2 separate regions of the Homo sapiens genome follow, and region 2 is linked to region 1. The links are contacts of gene promoters, found by promoter capture Hi-C in human tissues and cell types (Jung and others, 2019). All regions are on one chromosome and are shown on one strand. Each heading gives the region's core, a stretch centred on a gene start or on the middle of the fragment in contact. The rest is flanking DNA. Distances are from core to core; before and after follow the strand shown.

The links. The method cuts DNA at HindIII sites, captures the fragments that hold promoters and counts their contacts. A contact is called where the count stands out against the background at its distance.
Region 2: a fragment that was not itself captured here is called in contact with the fragment with the promoter of LCA5L in region 1 in 2 of the 25 tissues and cell types used here (hippocampus and pancreas).

Annotation. Positions count from the first base shown.
Region 1 is chr21:39,444,043-39,448,342 of GRCh38, forward strand. LCA5L (lebercilin LCA5 like) reads right to left here and starts at 1,736. Exons shown (of 11, transcript NM_152505.4): 1 at 1,683-1,736; 2 at 93-159. The region is part of intron 8 of GET1-SH3BGR (GET1-SH3BGR readthrough); the gene reads left to right. It overlaps MIR6508 (microRNA 6508), which reads left to right and starts at 2,968; the gene lies at 2,968-3,027. It also overlaps a transcript of SH3BGR not described here. RefSeq lists a silencer at 1,647-1,906. The HindIII fragment of the contact is 9,266 bases long and covers 1-4,300 here.
Region 2 is chr21:39,518,169-39,522,468 of GRCh38, forward strand. No RefSeq gene overlaps it. Among named protein-coding and RNA genes, the nearest start is that of SH3BGR, 68 kb to the left of the region's middle. The HindIII fragment of the contact is 5,481 bases long and covers 1-4,300 here.

The DNA.
Region 1 (4,300 bases), core at 486-2,985:
ACAACAAAAAAAGAGAGATTGGCTAGGGGCCTTAGCTCCTTGAGGGCAGGGACCTGTCACATTGATCGCGGTATCAGCACCCAGGTACTTACTATTCAAAATGATCAGCATACGGATGATCATTTGTCTGCATCTCAGTTTGCCTCTTTTGGTGCTTCTCTAAAAAATAAAAAAGGAAGAGCTTAAACTCCTACATGATTCCTGTCTTTGCGCTGGGAAGAAGGCTCTGGGTTCTTTTGTTCTTCAGGACAGTCCCTTGTAAAGCTCTTGCCATAGTTCTGTTCCAGGGGCACTGTCATATTTATACCTAACAAAGCTAAGGGGTGTCTTTACATTTTTAGCTTGTTAGCAGGATGCTTATATGGCCTTGCTGACCCGGTTTAAAAGTTGCAATTTGCAAAATACATACTGAAAATACTGCACTTTTACCTATGGAAGTTGTAATTTATATAAGGAAATTGTAATTTATATAATCCTTTAAAAAACTTACTCATACGAAATAACAGAGAACGGGGAAATACCATTAAGACTGTCATGCTCAAGTGGGGGAGGGGCAGACTCAGGGAAACCAATTAGGAAGCAAGTAAAATAATCCACGCACCAGATGATGGGGGCCTGGACCAAGGTGGTGACAGTGGCGGTTGAGAGAAATGGTAGAATTGTGAATCTATTCTGGGTGCATTTTGAAGGCAGTGCTGACAGACTGAAGGTGAGGAAGAGAAAAACAGGACTCAAACAGGATGCAAGACTCGGGCAACTGGAGGATGGAATTTCCAGCAACTATGATGGATTAAGATTGTGGGAGGACAGGCTTGGCTTGGGGAATTATTGAGCGCTATCTTGGACGAGCTGTGTTTGAGATGCCGTAGACATCCAAGTAGGGATGTGGCAGGCAGCTAAATGCAGGGATCTGGTGTTCAGGGGAGGGGCGAGGGCTGGGAATGCACACTTGGGGCTCACTGGAATTCAGATAGGCTCTGAGTACAGGCGACTGGATGAGTTCATCTAGGGATTGAGTGTAGACAGAAAAAAGGCTCAAGCTCACATTCAGCCGTGAAAACTGGTCTCTGAAAAAAGTTAACCGTTGGCTTAAGTGTGGCAACGAAACGTTAACACGCTGAGGGGAGGGTGTGGATAAAGAGCCCCGAGGCTGGGTGAGTGGGGGACAAACACAGACAGAGAAGACATTTCAAAAGATTTAGATTCCTACGAGATAGGGAGATGCCAGCGCTAAGGTTAGAAAGAAAAACTAATCCAAAGCAAAACAGCAAGTAAGCAGAGGCAAAATCGGAGGTCAGATAGAAGATTCAGATAGAAAAACCCCAAAGTTCCCTCGGTGGGGCGGCGGTGAGATCGGCCTCCGCCCCCTCGCCAGACCCAGGCGCGGCCCCGGGAGCGCTAGGTCACCTCGGCCCAGGCCGTCCCCCTGCCCAGCGGGCCTGAGAGTACGTGTGTCGCCGGGGCGCCCGGTCACTGCCGAGCCGGGGTAGCTGTTCCTTGGCAAACTGTGCCGCGAGGAGGAAACGGCGGGGCGCCAGCGAGGCAGGCAGGGGCGAGGACTGAGTGACCGGCGATACTGGAAGCCCAGAAAGAGCGTAGCAGGAGGGTCCGGAAGGGCCCAGAGCTGGGGCTGTAACAGGGTAACCGGCTGAGGGGGACGACGGCAGCAGCGGGGCCGTTACCTGCTCCGCGCTGTTCCCACGACTGCGCCAACGCCGCAGCGCCGGCGCGTCCCCATGGAAACCCGCGCGCGGGGCCTCCTGGGAAGCGCCGGCCTGCGGGGGCTGGGCGCGCGCATGCGCACTCGGGCAGCAGGAGCCGCGGCGGGGAGGGGCGTCTTGGGCCTGGAGGTCAGTGTGGCCTCGCGTTTGTCTTCGGTGACGGGAAGTGAGTTTCTTGTGTAGACGTCTGTAAACGATCCTCCTGCCGTCCCTGTTCGGCGCCCGGGACCCTGCCTTCCCGCGTGGCCGCACCGAGACGAGGGAGCCTGTCACGCGCTCTGGCGCTCTCCTGACCTCTTAAGGCTCTGTCAGTCTTAGGTAACTTGAGTCAGTAGGTGGGTGTAGACGCCTGGTCAATTCCTGGGAAGCACAGTTCCCCTATTAACCCCTTGTCATAAAGACGATTTTTTTTTTTTTTTTGTAAAACAAAATCTGATGACAAAACAATGCATGTTTGGCATAGAGAATTTAGAAATGTACAGGCAAGTCCAAAGCAAAAGTCAAAATCACCTAGATGATGGAGTTATAGATGTTTTTTAATGACAGCATAGGAATTTGGCATAATTTAGGAAGACTTACATTGTTTCCTTTTATTTATTTACTTTTTTTCCTGCATCAAAGCCATGTTGAATATCCTTGCAGATGAATCTTTGAGGTCACCCCTGACTGTTTCCTTAGGATAAATTCCTACAAGCGAGGTTGCAGGGCCAAAGCATATGCTCACTTTGAGGCTTTCTAAAGGTAGAGGGAAACTGCCTTCCAGTAAGTGTCCCGATACTTGGCCCGCATTGGAAATTCTCTTTTTTCTTAAAATTTTTTTGCCCATTTTATTGTCAAAAATTGGCATCTTTAATTGTATTCACTTCCTTTTTAGTAGGAAGAATAGACTTTTTCCCATATCTTGAGTGCCATTTGTCCTTATTGTGTGATTTGCATTTTCCTGTCTTTTGTCCATTTTAAAACTTGACATTCATCTTTGTAAAAATGGGTTTTGTAAGGACTTTTGATGCTTGAAAACTTGGCTTGTGATATACGTTGCAAATATTTCCTCAATTTGTCAGTTACCTTTAATTTTGTTTACAGTGTATTTTGGTATTTGTGTAGAGTCAAGCTTATTACATTTCTCTATAGTTTCTGCATTTGGTTTTTATATAAAAGGAGAAACGGGTGTTTTTTTTCAAATTGACTTTAATCCTACTTTGGTAGAAGTGGGTTAGGACAAGCTTTCTCTCCATATCACCATTTCTTCCTCTAGAAATGCATGACCCACCCTGAGTTTTGGTGGGCCATGCATTTCTAGAACTCCTTAGGTAGGGAATTATCCGTATAAGATGGGTGCCGGTTGTTTTTGCTGGTGGTGGTGGGCGGGGCAACATCTCCAGGTAGGCAAACATTAGACAAATGTCACTCTAGACTTGACATTATGGAAAGATGGGCTGATGCTTGGTGGGTGGTGGTGGCCCCATGACAGTAACGAGAGCGGAGTTTTGCCATTGCGGGAGCATCCAACCCTGGAGCTCATGACTGGAGGAATTGAAAGGTAGAGTTTCCTGAGAATGGTTTCCTCCTCTTTTCTACCAGCTTTTCCCAGTCTGTAGACATGATAAGTCACTGCAAATCTGCCCTTGAATCTTTCTTTGCTTTCGCTTTTGCTTTTTTTTTTTTTTTTTTTTGAGACGTATCACTCTATCGCTCAGGCTGGAATGCAGTGGCGCCATCCCAGCTCACCACAACCTCCGCTTCCTGGGTTCAGGTGATTCTCCTGCATCAGCCTCCTGAGTAGCTGGGATTACAGGTGTGAGTCACAACACCCGGCTAATTCTTTTTGTATTTTTAGTAGAGATGGGGTTTTGCGATGTTGGCTAGGCTGGCCTTGAACTCCTGACCTCAAGTGATCTGCCCGCCTCGGCCTCCCAAAATGTTGGGATTTCAGGCATAAGCCACCGTGCCTGGCCTTTGCTTTTGCTTTCGAAGGGGTGTTCTTTTCTGTGTACACAATGGAAGGAGAAGAGCCATGGCCTTTCACTATTCTGGGGCCATCTCCATCATGCCACATAAAAAGCATAGCCTTTATTTCTCTATATTAGGTTCCTAGGTTCCTAGGGATGTCATAACAGACTACCACGAACTTAGGGGCTTAGAACAATAGAACTTTATCTTCTCACATTTCTGGAGGTCAGAAGTATGAAACCAAGTTGTCTGAAAGTCCATGTTTCCTCTGAAGGCTCTTAGGGAGAATTTTTTGAGTCTTCCAGCTTATGGGGACTCCTGCTATTCCTTGGCTTGTGGCAGCACCACTCCAATTTCTGCTTCCATCTTCACAGGGTGTTCTTCTCTGTGTCTCCCTGTCTTGTCTTCTTATAAGGACAACCAGTCATTGGACTTAGGGCCCACCCTAAATCCAGGATGATTTAATCACAAGACCCCCTCAACTGATTACATCTGTAAAGACTCTATTTCCAAATAAGGTTACATGCTGAGGTTTGGCTGAACATGAATTTTGGTGAACAATATTCAACCCACTACAGTTATTATGGTAATCATTTCCATCATTCTACATAATAAAGACGTGTCTTTAT
Region 2 (4,300 bases), core at 1,229-3,728, 75 kb after region 1:
GTTCAAGACCAACCTGGGCAACATAGCAAGACCCCATCCCTACAAAAAATACAAAAATCAGCCAGGCATGGTTGCGTGTGCTTGTAGTTCCAGCTACTCGGGAGGCCAAAGTGGGAGGATTGCTTGAGCCAGCACTCTAGCCCAGCCCATTGATCACGCTACTGCTCTCCAGCCCGAGTGACAGAGCAAGACCCTTTCTCAAAAACAAAACAAAACAAAACAAAAAAACCGCACCTCATTTAACTGTTAACACCTGTGCAAGCACGGCAAGTAGGTGTGAAGGGCCTGGTACATTGTAATAACAGAGAATGGCCATTAGGTGGCGATAAAAGACAAGCTTCTTGCTATGGTGTCGCTGCCCCCGAGGTCCCCTGGCTGTGAACCCGAGTCAGGGTACTGCTAGTTGACATTAGAAGGTGGGAAGAGGTATTTGTCAACCAGATGGAGGAAAATAGACAAAAACTCTACTTATAATTAATTTGTGAATTAATTAGTGTATCATTTATAAAGCTTTTATCCAAGATAACTTTATTTTGGGCCAAATGTGCATTTATTGTTTGAATGCACATCCTTGCATTATACAAAAGGAGCCTAAATTCAGTCAACAACTGATTGCATGTTGACAATTTTGATAAAGATACGGGGTCTTTTAGCCTCTAATGGGGTTCTATCTTATCAAATAAGTAAAAACAGAACTCTGATTATTGAAGGGGTTGATTATCCTTTTCTTTCGCAAGACTTTTAGTTCGAATAGAACATATGTCCAAATATTTGGAAATATATTCACGATCCTAACAAAGGCATTCCTTTCACAGTTGTCTAGGTTACTTGGCTTTTTCACTACTTTGTTTTGGAAGGACTTTCTTGGAAGTAGTAAAACTGAGTTGGGAAATCTTTAAAATGTATCAGTGCATCTGGCTGTTTTCCAAATCAGAAGTCAGGAGATTGTTCAATGATGCGGAAATGTACTCAGGTGTGGAAGATTCCAGTTGGGGAGGGGCTCAGGTGGACAGGTGTGAGTAGCATAGAGGGGGCGTGGAGTGGGGGCTTAACCTGGGGGGCTCCTGGTTCCAGTCCGGCATTCTGTAGATTTAGCACCCGGATCTTGTCAGGGGAGGTGAGAGAAACCTCCGAGGCAGACTCCCATGAATCAAGCTCACAGTCTAGGCTTACAATCAGGGTGTGGGCTTTCCTATTATTTTTATTCACTAACACTAACGGAGTGCCTGCTATGAGCCGGGCTCTGTATTAAAGGCTTCGTGTGTTGCCACAGTAACCCGATGAGGTGGATACCATCTTTATCTGGCAAGGAGGAAACTGAGGCACCGGGTTTCAATTCAGTACTTCGGCAATGGCTGAACCGAAGCTGAGATATACCTGTGTCCCACTCCAAAGCCACGAACAGCCTTCCCAACAAGCCCTTTCCTCTCGGTCCTGGACCACAGTACGGTTCCTCTACGGTGCCTGGCTGGCCGTGGGCAGTGTGCGCCTTGGCCCCAGAGCGCCTCCTCCGCCTGGCTTTGGTCCTCGCATTCTGTCTTCAGACTCGATGCCGTTCGGGCCCTGGTGCAAGGTGCCTTGCCCTTCTCACTTACTATCCACCTATTTTGTTTTCTTAGTTGCACCATCAGAGGTCTATTCCATTACCTTCATCTTCCAGTTCTTTGGGCCGCTAGCTGTGGCCGCCACCACCAGCGCCAGTTACAGAGGGAACTGGGTCACTGTCCACCCACAGGGTTCTAGAAATTGGTCAGTGGCCTCAGATCCGAAGTTTCAGGTTGCAGAGAGAAAATACTAAAACTGCCACCTGCCTTTTCCAGCCTGGTTGTCCTTGGATATATCTTGCCCACTGATGCGGAAGGACACACACACACCAATAACTCATTTGGTTCTGAGCTATCAACTGCCACGCAGTGATGTGCCAGAGTTGCAACCAGCCCCACATGGTATTTTTAGCTGAGAGAACAACTCCTTCTAGTTGAGGATGGTTTAATGAGTGCGTCTTAATCCCATGACATGAATTTTAGTTCGTTTTGTAGCAGGTCAGGTTTCTCTGTAGTCCCTGCTTTTTAAAAAATTATTTTTAATTTTAAATTAAAAATTTTGTGGGTACATAGGTGTATATATTTATGGGTTATATGAGATATTTTGGTACAAGCATGCATTTTGTTTTTTTGGGAAAGTTTTTATTTCTCCTTCATGTTTGAAGGATATTTCCACTGCATGTACTATTCTGGGGTAAGTATTTTCCCTTCAGCACTTCAAATATGCCATGTCACTTTCTCCTGGCTTGTAAGGTTTCTACTGAAAAGTCTGTTGGAGGTCCATTGTACGTTATTTGTTTCTTTTATCTTGCTGCTTTTAAGATCTTTTCTTTATCCTTGACCTTTGGGAATTTGACTATAAATGCCTCGAGGTAGTCTTCTTTGGGTTAAATCTGCTTAGTGTTCTATAACTGCCTTGTACTTGGATATTGATACCTTTCTCTAGGTATGGGAAACTCTGTTACCTTCCCTTTGAATAAACTTTCTGTCCCTACCTTTTTCTCTACCTCCTCTTTAAGGCTAATAACTATTAGGTTTACCCCTTTAGGCTACTTTCTAGATCCTGTAGGATTGCTTCATTGTTCTTTATTCTTTTTTCTTCTCTGTGTATTTTCTTATTTTTGATGCACTTTTTGTTTCAATAATTTTTGGGGTACAGGTAGTTTTTGTTTACATAGATACGTTCTTTAGTGGTGATTTGTGAGATTCTAGTGCACCTGTCACCCAAGCAGTGTACCTAATATGTAGGCTTTTATCCCTCAACCCCCTCCCAAACATCCCCTCAATCCCTTAAATTTCATTATATCATTGTTATGCCTTTGTGTCCTCACAGCTTAGTGCTCCCTTATAAGTGAGAACACATGATATTTGGTTTTTGATTCCCGAGTTACTTCACTTAGAATAATGGCCTCCAGCTCCATCTAAGTTTGCTGCAAATGACATTATTTCATTCCTTTTTATGGATGAGTAGTGTTCCGTGGTTGTATATATACCACATTTTCTTTATCCACTTGTTGGTTGATGGGCACTTAGGTTAGTTCTATATCTTTGCAATTGTGAATTGTGCTGCTATAAACATGCATGCGCATGTGTCCATTTCATACAATAAGTTCTTTTCCTTTGGGTAGATACCCAGTAGTGGGATTGCTGGGTCAAATGGTAGTTCTATGTATGTAGTCTGGAGATTCTTTTAAGAATCTCCATTCAGTTTTCCATAGTGATTGCACTATTTTACATTCCTACTGGTGGTGTAAAAGTGTTCACCATATCTATACCAACATCTATTGTTTTTTGACTTTTTCATTATGGCCATTCTTGCAGCAGTAATGTAGCATCTCATTGTGGTTTTAACTTGCATTTCCCTGCATTCGTGATGTTGAGCATTTTTTTTGTATGTTTGTTGGCTGTTTGTCTTCTTTTGAGAAATGTCTATTCATGTCCTTTCCCACTTTTTGATGGGTTATTTGTTCTTTTCTTGATGATTTGTTTGAGTTCCTTCACCAGTTATACTAGGTATGGCCATTTTACATAATCCCATATTTCTTGGAGATTTTGTTCATTTATTTTGATTCTGATTGGGTTAATTCAAAAGCCTTGTCTTCAGGCTCTGAAATTCTTTCTTCTACTTGTTCTAGTCTATTCTTAAAACTTTTCACTGCATTTTGTATTTCCCTAAGTGTGTCTTTAATTTCCAGGAGTTCTAATTGGTTTTTCTTTATGATACCCATCTTTCTGGAAAATTTTTCATTCATATCCTGAATTTTAAAAAATTCCTTTATTTTGTTTTTCACCTTTCTCTGGTATCTCCTTGAGTAGCTTAATAATCAATCTTCTGAATTCTGTGTCTGCTATTTCAAGGATTTTAGATTGGTTTGAATTCATTGCTAGGGAGCTAGTGTGATCTTTTGGGGTGTTATTGAACCCTATTCTGTCATATTACCAGAATTAATTCTCTGGTTCTTTCTCATTTGGGTAGACTATTTTTTCAAATTGTTCTTGAATGTATTTGACTGTATTTTTTTCTTTAATTTCTTTTTTTTTTTCTCTTAAGGGTCTGACTTCAATGTTTATAGTTTATTATAGCCTAATTTGATTCTTGGTGATTTTAGGGGGGAAGACTCCGTATGAGTTCCTTAGTTATAGAGAGTCTTTGTGTGCTGGCTTTCCCAGATGTTGGCTGTAGTATTTATGTACTTGGTGTATGGGCAAGTTCACTGTCTCCTACATGGTTGGAATAGCAAGGATCTCTTGAAGCT